2 separate regions of the Homo sapiens genome follow, and region 2 is linked to region 1. The links are contacts of gene promoters, found by promoter capture Hi-C in human tissues and cell types (Jung and others, 2019). All regions are on one chromosome and are shown on one strand. Each heading gives the region's core, a stretch centred on a gene start or on the middle of the fragment in contact. The rest is flanking DNA. Distances are from core to core; before and after follow the strand shown.

The links. Contacts are between HindIII fragments. The study calls those that stand out against the background at their distance.
Region 2: a fragment that was not itself captured here is called in contact with the fragment with the promoter of NPSR1 in region 1 in 3 of the 25 tissues and cell types used here (H1 embryonic stem cells, bladder and neural progenitor cells).

What each region holds. Positions count from the first base shown.
Region 1 is chr7:34,655,264-34,660,836 of GRCh38, reverse strand. NPSR1 (neuropeptide S receptor 1) reads right to left here and starts at 2,619. Exons shown (of 9, transcript NM_207172.2): 1 at 2,278-2,619. The coding sequence starts at 2,424. All of the region lies in intron 2 of NPSR1-AS1 (NPSR1 antisense RNA 1), which reads left to right. RefSeq lists enhancers at 1-580, 5,241-5,573. The HindIII fragment of the contact is 11,658 bases long and covers 1-5,013 here.
Region 2 is chr7:34,392,920-34,398,492 of GRCh38, reverse strand. The region is part of intron 3 of NPSR1-AS1 (NPSR1 antisense RNA 1); the gene reads left to right. Among named protein-coding and RNA genes, the nearest start is that of NPSR1, 260 kb to the left of the region's middle. The HindIII fragment of the contact is 5,164 bases long and covers 788-5,573 here.

The sequences.
Region 1 (5,573 bases), core at 1,370-3,869:
TCATGGAGGAAGCAACCCAAGCTGAGCTTTATAGACTGGGTAAAATTGAGATAAACAGATGAAGATGGAAGGCAGGACCGGAAGGAAAGATACACCATGGATTGTGAGAATTAAATGAGATACTTCACAGAAGTCACTTGCTAAGTGAGTCTTGCTATGACTCTTGGCACCAAGAATGCCCAAAGTAAATGAGACGTATGGTTGTTGCTGTTATTTCTGTGACTTTTACTGCTGCTGCTATTTTTATTTTCATGCTATTTTTTTTACTGCTTTTGATGAAGGCAATGGGGATTAAAGGGGATACATCTGGGAGACAGTAAAGGGAGCATGGTTTCGAATTTCTTCTCTAGAAGTATGTCAGATAAAATGAATTGCAGTGAACAAGGGCTTGCATTGGAACTATTTCTGTATCAACAATGCATTAGAATTGCTTGTGCCCAAAGGGGATCATAGAAAAAAAGTTACACTAAGAAATATAAGCTAAGTTCTCACAAATACCACCAGTAATCACTGTGTAACTAAAAATCACAGGGTTTTAGTCAATACACGTATCTCTCAAATAATGAATCTGAGCATTCTAAGCTCCTGGCCAAACACAATTCCTGTCTTTCTGCTTTTCTCCTTGTCCAGTGGTCCAGCCGTTTTGCTGCAAACATATCAATAGGAATCAGCTAGAGATGCTGTGATTCTCTTTAGTGTCTGGCGATGATGTTGCTAGGATAGAGAGGACAAACACTCATAGAGAGCAAGGTGGGATTTGTTTCTTCACATATTCCAAATATCCCTGTAGGTGCTATATTCAAAAAATGGCAAATGAGATTTCAGCTGAGATTGATTCTTGCCAGAGTCTCAGAATAACCACCTTATTGCTGATTTTATTCCCTTTGCAATGGAGGGCCTCTCTTCATTCTGCTTGCTATCATGTTCTAAGAATATCAAAGAGGCTACACAGGCAGCAATACTGAGTGGAGTCCTGTGCTTCCTGGGTGCACACAGCCTGCCAAGACAGACTCTCTGGGTCTGCAGGCTGATTTCATAAAGGGGATTATTCAGTCGACATTAAGTGGCAACAAACTCTAATTTTACTTTCTAAGCTACATCGTGGAGCTGTGCAGCTGGGCTGCGTATGTGCATATGCATTAGGAGGTGATTCCAAGGGACAGGGTTTCACTGAAGCCAGTGGAGGAGTAGTTTGCTCAGGTTCTGCTTTGCTGCAGGATCATTAGGGCCCTGGAAGTTTAAGTCTGACTCCTGGGACAGCACCCTGCTGAAAGTTTTATTCTGAATATTTGCAAAAGAAGTGAACTTCCAGTAGGGAGGTGGATGTTACAGTAATGCTATCTCATTGTGTAAAAACCAAATCATTTCAAGAACATACAGAGGATTAACAACAACAACAACAACAAAACCCAACAAAGCAACAACTAGAATCTTTTTGAAGTATTTTTTCTTCAGTGGAAAGGACCAGTTTGAGACCTGTGAATTATTGCAATGACTAAACATATCGTTAGACAGGTGTGAAATAACCTGACAACCCAGCATTCTGAGGCAAGAAGCAGGAAACTGTTCTTTTCCCAAATGTGCGGTTCATTTCTGTCCACAAGATCTTGTTGCGGAATAAGAAACAATACAGTATTAGCTTAATGAAGATCCTTCCTCAGTGTGGCCCTTGGATACTTTGAAGGTGAAACTCACCAAACTCTCTGTCCTTCATTTGTTCTAGGAGGTAATTTGTTGCAAATGGTGGCATCATCAACTACCCTCAAAGAAATATATTCCTCACTGATGTTTAATGAAAAGGATCATCAAAGAAAGTGTCGTCCTTCCTGCCTTATTCAATGTTGTTTCTCATCATATCAGTCACTGTCCTGGGGATTGTGAGCTTTCCGCATCTCTGGTGTTCCTAGCAAAAAACTCATAGCTCTAACCCCTACTAGAAACAGACATTTCAAGTACTGCTATAGGATTAATTAAAAGTGCTTTCACCTAAGGAAAGGGGGAAAGTAAAAATCATCCACTCATAAATGTTACTCACGATTCACACATTTCCAGCAGCATCAGAAAGAAAAACGTCACCTGTATTCCTAAGAAACTACAATCTAGGTCTCTGCACACTACAGCTTGTTGTTTTAGCACTTCAGACTTTTAAAAATCCTTTTTAGTAAAGAAAATAACACTCATTCACAATACTGGCTATGATACTTCAATTGACACTCTTAAGTTCCAGCAGTCTCATTGTTATAAGTCAGTGTTCAGAGTCGCAGGCAAGAAACTTACCTTAAAGGAGTAGTAGAAGGAACCCCATTCCTTTCCTTCCACCACTTCAGTAAAAGTCACTGTTTCAGTGCAAGCCACTGGGGAAGAATCCAGCGTCTGCCCGGTCCCACTGGAATCGAAGCTGCCCTCTGTGAAGTTGGCTGGCATGGCTCAGGCGGGGTTGAGCCTCACTGTCCTTGCTCCTGCAGCTGAGTGAGGGAGTCCAGCTTGCCTCCTGAGAGCTGGGCAGCAGCTGCAGCTCTGCTGAACGGAGGCACAGAGCCCTCCCTGAGCCCACCTCACTGAAGAGCTCTGCCTGATGACAGGGAGGATCTACGTGCTGCTCTCTCCTTGGCAATTACCACCAGGTAGCCAGCATAGCACAACCCTCATCACCCCACAGTCCCACCCAGGGCCAGGGCCCCACCCCAAGAGCAAGGTGGAGCTCCCCATAGCCATCGACATGGCTCCCTGGATGAGACCCCTGTTCTGTTTTGCTTTTCCTTACTTCCACGGTGGACCCCCACTTCTGCTCCAGCTTCAACAATAAAGGAATTTGGACTAATCAGTAGGTGCATGAATTCGGGTCATGTTTCCACTTCTGAAATCAAATTATAATTATGCATTTGTTTCAGCTGAGGTTGCTTTCTGACTTAAAGCCTCACCTTGCCATCTACTGTGTCATGTGCTCTTATTTCCGTAAGTGTAGGCAAATAGTACGTTTGTATTTCACACCCTTAGTTCTATCTAGGTGTTCACAGGGCGGTTCTCAGAGAAACATGAGGTCTGTGTTTGTCAATAAGCTACAACACCTTGTGATATGACTGGGAGGGGCCTGGTGAAGATTCTTACTGCTTTCAGTATATTCACCTCAGCTTCTACCTAGGACCAATACTCAGGGCGAGGGTAGAAAGGAGGTAATGCAGCATCCTGGGCACCACAGACAGGGCTAGGCGAGAATACTAACAGCTATTCCTGTTTCACAAAAAACCTGCAAAGCACATTTACACGTTCTTTCATTCAGTTTCCCAAACAACCTTGTGAGATAGGCAGGGAAGGTATCTTTATGTTCTCCTTTATGCTAGCAGAGAGTGGCTCCAATAGGTGAAATGACTTGCCCAAGATCCCGCAGCTGCTGATGTAAATGAGCTGATAACCCATCTCCAGAACTTCCTAGACAGTGGTGCTTTTACTGTAACAGACTGGTTTGCATCAAATCTCAAATGTCTATGGGGCATGAAGGTAACATGAATGAGGGTAGCAGGCCAGGTATAAAACAATGGGAACTAAGCTGCTTATATGACAACCAAGCACAATACCTGATTCCTCACATTGAGAACACTCTGTGAACCAACCAGGTCCAGCCACTGGTTTATGGCACCTGGAATAAGAGGTAGTAGCTTTAGTGGCCACCACTAAAGAACCTGGCCCCCATGAGATCTCCTGGGGAAGCTTTATTATAAACCATCGAGCCCCAAGGAGGGCACAGTGCTCTAGCAATGAGAAGGCATTGAGTCTATAATGAAGGGCAGCAAACAGAAGTGAGTTGTGTAGAAAACTGGATAAGCTGTGGACTCTTAAGGAAAGGTTCAAAACAGGACAACAACTCAATAGCAAAACAAGTGCAGCATATTCCAACTAACAAATGAGTATGAAGATAGGCTCAACCATATTAAAAATTAAGGAAAATAACTAAAACCAGTAAGAATGTTTACCTATTATTATAGTGAAAGCTAGCGTGTGGCTATCCCCAAGTGCTGACAAGATTGAAGGGAAACGGGTGTACATCTTTACTTCTGGTGAGAGTTAGTTGATGTGGTAATTTTTGAAAAGCAATTCAGCAGTATTTAGTAAAGCTGGAATTACATATCCTCTAATGCATTGTTCCATTTCTAGATGCTAATAATTTTTCATCTCTATCTGGGTTACTTACATATGCTCAATTCACATAAATTCTTTGCACTACATACTTAAAACATATGCACTTTTCTGTAGGTATGTTTTACTTCAAGAAAATGTTTATAAGACAAAATCTGTGAGGAACTCCTGGGAGAAGGTAGAAGCTGGTTAGGTCACAGTGTGGTAGGGGCAGAGTGAGAGAAAGTGGCAGATGCCATGGACAGAGAATAGGTGGGGAGAGAGAGCTTTCTGGTTGTTTCCTTTTCTCTCCATTCATGATCCAGATAGACCATTGTTTAACCTGTGGCCACCCAAGAGAAACATTTATGTATCTATACAAGCAGTCATGCAAAATGATGCCTTCGCAAAGTATTAAAGAAACGTATCAGAAGCAACCTAAATATTCATGATGTCAAAATCAATGAATCATCCCAAACTGGAAACCACCCAAATGTCCATCAACTGGATGAATAAATTTTCATGTAGTCACACAATGAAATACTATATAGCAATAAGAAAATGATCTGTAGCCAAAAATAACATAAATGGAACTTACAAACATAATATTAAGCAAAATAATAAATATGGTTGTTTCCTTTTTTTTTTTTTTTTTTTTTGAGATGGAGTCTTTTTCTGTTGCCCAGGCTGGAGTGCAATGGCACGATCTCGGCTTACTGCAAGTTCTGCCTCCTGGGTTCACGCCATTCTCCTGCCTCAACCTCCCAAGTAGCTGGGACTACAGGCGCCTGCCACCACGCCTGGCTAATTTTTTGTATTTTTAGTAGAGACAGGGTTTCACCATGTTAGCCAGGATGGTCTTGATCTCCTGACCTCGTGATCCACCTGCCTCGGCCTCCCAAAGTGCTGGGATTACAGGTGTGAGCCACTGTGCCCAGCCCTTTCATCTTTATAAAGTATAACTGTGCATGTATATAACACAATGGAATACTATACAGTAGTTAGAAGAAAGTTGAGTGGACAAGAAGACAAACTAACATGGTATAATGATTAACTGTATGTGTCAGTTTGACTGGGCCATGGAGTGCCCAAATAGTTAAACATTATTCTGGGTGTGTCTGTGAGGTGGCTCTGGATGAGATTAGCATTTGAATTGGCAGACTGAGTAAAGCAGATTGCCCTCCCTAATGTGAATGGCTCTCATCCATTCAATTAAAGGCCTGAATAGAATAAATAGGCTAATTCTTCTGTGAAAAGCGGGGAACTCCTCTTGCCTGACTTCTTTGAGCTGGGACATTGTTTTTTTTCTGGCTTTTGGGCTTGAACTGAAACATCAGTTCTTCCTGGGTCTCAAGCCTGCCAGCTTTCAGACTGGAACTACACCATTGGCTCTCCTGGTTCTCAGGCCTTCATACTCAGACTGGAACTACACATCAGCTCTCCTGGGTCTCCAGCTTGCT
Region 2 (5,573 bases), core at 2,120-4,619, 260 kb after region 1:
AATTAGGCCAAGACAATGCAGTGCATAAAGGGATTGGTGCCCTTATAAAAGAGACCCAAGAAAGCCCCTTCACCTTTTCCACCATGTGAGGACACAGAGAGAAGATGGACATCTATGAACCAAAAAGTGAGGCCTTGCCACATACCAAATCTTCTGGAGGCTTGATTTTGGATTTCCTAGCCTTCAGAACTGTAAGACATAAATGTTTGTTGTTGTTTAAATCCCCAGTCTATGATAGTTTTGTTATAGCAGCCTGGACAACTAAGGTAGCCTCTAAGATGGCCCCCAATGATTCCTGCTTTGCAGTAGTCACACTGTTGTGTGATTCTCTCCTCTTGAATGTGAGTGGAATTTATTAACTCACTTCTAACAAATGAATAAAGAACATGAGCTAGGATGTCACTTCTGAGATAAGTTTATAAAAAGGCTTTGACTCCTGCCCTGGCCACTCTCTCTTGGATCACTTGCCTTGGAGGAAGCCAGCTGCTATGACCTAGAACAGCCCTGTGGAGAAACCTTTACCTCATGGGATCAAGACTTATTCACACCAATGTGAATGAGCTTGGAAGCCACTTCTTTATCCCCAGTCAGGTCTTTCAGTGAGACTGCATCCCTGGAGGATAGCTTGACTTCAATCTTGTATGAGACTTTGAGCCAGAGACAACTAGCTAAACTGTGCCGGAATACCTGCCTGAAAGAAACCATGAGGTAACAAATGTTTGTTGTTTTAAGCTACTAAGTTTTAGGGTAATTTGTTATACAGCAATAAATAACTAAAATACTTTGTGATTTTTTTGACATACTTGCTATACTTTGTAAATCATCCTTTTATTAAGTATGCTGGGATTATGCATAAAACAATATTTCTGGGCATATAAGAGAAATGAAATACTCTTCTCAGGTTCATTTCCTCTGAAGACATGAGAAGAATAGATAACGGTTAAATATAGAAATTTCCCTGAGTCTTTGAAGACCCTAAGTTCCTTGAAATAATTTGGATTTATTTTCTAAGTATGGTAGATGGGAAGGATTTAAAAGATCTTTTTAAGGAATTTAAAATCTTTTTAAGGACTTAAAAGAGAAATAGCTCCTTAGCATTGAGATAAAAAACAAAGGTCGTAGAGTTTTTTTTCCAAGAACATCCTGAAGCACTTAAGTACATTACATCTAAGGTGACAGACTTTAAACTAAAGTGGCCATGGGGTAAATGGTTGGTGGGATTCTTCAAAGAATGGGCACTTAGTGCCCCAGGCTTGGGAGCCTAGACAAGAAGAAAGAGAATCTCTTTCATGGAACTTCACCCTCCTTTATGGGACCTCATGAGCCTTGGTAGTTGAGATATCACTAGGGCTAAAGTAGTCGAGAGACAACGGAAAGTCAAAGAGGACCTATGACATTATATGGTGGTGACAGCAGCAGCAGAAAATGACCCTACTTGTTTCTGTGAGACTACCAATGGTCTCCCCTGATCCCCCAACCCTCCACAGATACTTTAACCTGCAAAAAGGTTTTGTTTGTTTTTGTGACAATCCAGGGAACGTAGAAGTGGGGATCATGGCAACTCTTACTTAGATTTTGGAAAGTTTTTTTAAAAGTGACATTCAACATAAATGACGTCATTCACCTGACCTCACCCAAGTCAGCAGGGATCTCTGATAAGGCCCCTCTTGGTCCAAATCCTCCCAGGTTTGGTTGAAGATTCAGACAGTATTTGAGCCACACACATTTTTAACTTGATGGGATTGGTATTAAAGCTCTACTGTGAGACAGGAATTTCATTTGTTATTCTCTAGAGAGCCTGCTAATTGCACATTTGTGGTTTTCATTTTTCTTTGAGGATCAGATTTTGTTTGAAATGACTCATTAGAGTTTTTACAACCTTTTCCCTCATTCAAAATTTTGGTTATGGAGAAAAAAGTTTATCTCTGAAAAGAGGATGTGAATCTTTGTGATGTAAGCAAAAGAAAAAATAATCTTTAAAGCTGGTATGTGGCCTCATGCTCCTCTCTAGTGTTTGTGACCTACATGGTGGATATCTCCTCTCCAAGGACAAGATTGGATAGAGTATTATAAATATATTAGTTTTTCTACAATAGTCATCAGTGCTTAGCACTTGTAGGACTAAAGATGATGTACATCACTGACCTATTCATAATACTTCACAAAGCAAAAGGCATGAGGTGAGCTTTTTGGTAAAAGAAACCAGTTTGTTAGCCTTTTCACTGGTGTTAACACAACCGAGAGTTAGGACAACTGAATTCTGTGATAGTATAACAAATTTGGGATGGTTTAATATGGCTTTTCCCCTCTTTTGGTCACTTAGCTCACCCCTTTATGTTGGGAACAAAAAATATCACACCAACGATACATGGCCCAGTAACACTAGTGATGTGGGATAGATACTCAAAGAACAGTGTATCCACAACATTATATGACAAAGTACTGGTTGGCGTGCCACTGAATGGGTACCATGACTATCTATTAGTTATCTCTAAACGAAACATCTTGGCTGTGCACGATCAATCTACAGGCTTAGCTACCCCCAAGATGGTTAGGATGGTGTCTTTGAGGCTATTCCTGGATACCAGGCTAAGTTCGTACCCTTTCAAAACCTGCAAATCTTCCTCATTTACAATCTTGTTGGAATTTTTCTGTATTCTATTGACGTGATCATTTAGCTTCTGTCTTTCTCCTGCAACTGGTTACTGAGGATTTCATTTGGTGTGTAGAGGCCGTAACCAATTATATAAAAAAGGCCCTAAATAATAGTCTTATGGGTATCTCGTTACGAAACAATGAAGAAAGGCTCTAATACAGAACAGTGTGGCTTTAGACATACTCACTGCAGCCCAAGAGGGAACATGCACAATGATAAAAACTGAGTGTTGTGCCTGTATCCCAGATGAATCAGATAACATCACTAAAGTAATGGCTGATATAAAAACCCGAATAACTAAACTTTTAGATACAACAGTCTCTCCAAGTGATTGGGTAAGTAGCTGGTTTTGATACTGAGAAAACTGGTGGAAAAAGCTTTTACTTATTCTAGGAATTATAATCATTTGTTGTGTTTTGTCCTCTTTTTGTCTTCACTGCTGCTGTGGCATTTGTTCACAATGGAGTCAATATACAACTAAAGAAACTAAAATAATGGTTACTCAAATAAATTGCATTAATTAAAGATGTAGTCTGGTAGCCTGTCTCAGGTTACAAAGTCACTTTCCTCATGCTGCTTTAAATTTGTCCTATGCCCTATCAACTTTATAGCTTGATAAATTCCTCCTGCCATAAGACACGACACTCCGTGAATGAGCCTTTCTAGCAATGTAGGACTAAGTTCTTGAACATAAAAAGAGCCTGTAAAGGCCAAAAGAAATCTTTTCTTTTTTCTCTCTGAAGGTTCACTGAAAAACTCAACTCACAAAAGGCAGATTAATTAGAGAAAAGGCATACAAATTTATTATTAATGCGCACATTGGCAAGAATTAGAGTGATTACCCGTTCTTCAAGGAATACAGAAACTTACATATCATGATTGAAGTGACAGAAAGGGCTCAGAGCATGGCCCAAAACAGATTATGGTGGTAAATCAGATTACAGTGGCAAGACAGGTTATGGGAGGGAGAGAAGAGGAAGCTTGGCTAGCAAAGATGGTCTTGTTATGTAAATGAAATCTCACTGGTAACAGATCTCAAAAAGAATACGTGGCAAATGTTTCTTTCAGATCTTTAAGTGTGTCAGGCTCTCAGTTAATCTTTTCTAGATCAGACAAGGGAAGGCCTTCAAAGAAGTCCTCACTGCATCAATGCAGATTTTGTCTACAAACGAAAATCTTGCCCACAAAAGACAGCATTACAGGACTACTGTCTGCAGGCCCTCTGGTCAGCCATCTCAAAATATTTCAAAGAAATATATTTTGGGGTAAAATATTTTTATTTCCTTCAAGCCAAAACTGTTTGAGTTTATCCATGATGCTGTCTTTGAAAGATCTCAATTGAAAGAGGGAAATGTGAAATTAAATAATGCAAACTTAAAGTAAATTAAACCTAAAGCTGCTGGAACATTAAATATCCTGAGCCTCGTGGCATGCAACTGCAAACTTCTACACTTTTTTCTCCTGTTTCTAGAAATAACTAATACCTAAGATGCCAGAGATAAGACCCCCTCAGATCACTACCTCTCCTCATGAAATAATAAAGCAATATTCCTTGGAATGTATCAATCTATAGTCATTCAGATTGCTGTGGTGTGTATACCTGGTATAGTATAAAAATGTTTAATACTGCTGGAACTTCTCTGTTTCTGCCTATATGATTGAAACTTTAACCTCTTCACTTTGGAAAAACTGACCTATTCATTTGGAGTCAGTGCTTCTCCTAAAGCTTCATGCTTGAATAAGCTCTATACTTAATTGTATTTTATTAATTTTATTAAGATTGACATCCTTGCACCTTGAATTGTGTAGAATAGCCGATACTTGTTATAGTTAAAATAAGTGTGATTAATGTAAAAAGTTAAATAGAATAAGGAAACTCCCAGGTACCTTGTACCCAGTTAGGTGTATCACTTTGGCTAAATAAATGACTATTATTTTATAGTGATCTGTGATTCTATTTTGAGCATGTGTTTTAAATCTTTTATATTTGACCAAATTTCCAAAATCGAAATTCCAAATTCCTATTTTGTTTTTGCATTTTACTCAAAAGGTAAACAAAAATCTTTACTATCTCTTGTTAATACAACACAAAAATGTAGTTCAAAGGAGAAAAACCAAATTTTACCTTTACATTAGTATATTGTTAATACTAAAGCTAATTTGAATAAAGCCTTTTAAACAAATCTATCCCATCCCAATCAGTTTTGACCAGAAGGTAAGATTTCCATAAACCTTTTATAATGTTTTACAATTCTTCCCATTCTCTTTCTTTACCAACTTTCTATATCCATTTAGTTCTATCTAGCATTTACAAATATTTTCCATTTAAATCAACTTTTATAAACTTCTAAACTGGGCAAAAATTACTTTTCCTTGAACAAAAACCGTATTCCCTTGCCTTCTTATAACCCCATCACCAAAAACACATTCTACTTTCCTTGTACACCTTGCATATAGAATTTTTTGACATCTAGTAGTTTTAATCACATACATTAATCACAATGCTAAATCTTAGTAACTAATTTTTAGTGAAAAACCTAGGAAGTAAGCAATTTTAAGTATGTACCAGATGTAGAGCTCAGGACAAAGGACAGAGCTGTGAAGACAATGCCTGGAGGATCTAATTCCTCTCAGCATGCCAAGAGACACAGCTAGACTAGGGAGGATGGGGCCCAGATATCCCCAGGTCTCACCATGGCCACTTATCTAGACCTCAAAATCTAAAGGCTCAAATCCAAAGACATTAGCTCACAGAGAAATTAAGCAAGTATCAAAAATAATAGAGAAGCAATGTTTATGACCTTAAAACATCTGTCAGAGACAGTTTAACCCCATCTGACCTATAGACCCAGGCAAAAATGTCTCAATTAACTTCTGAAGATGTTTCTATTTTATTTTATCAATAATTTTATAATGA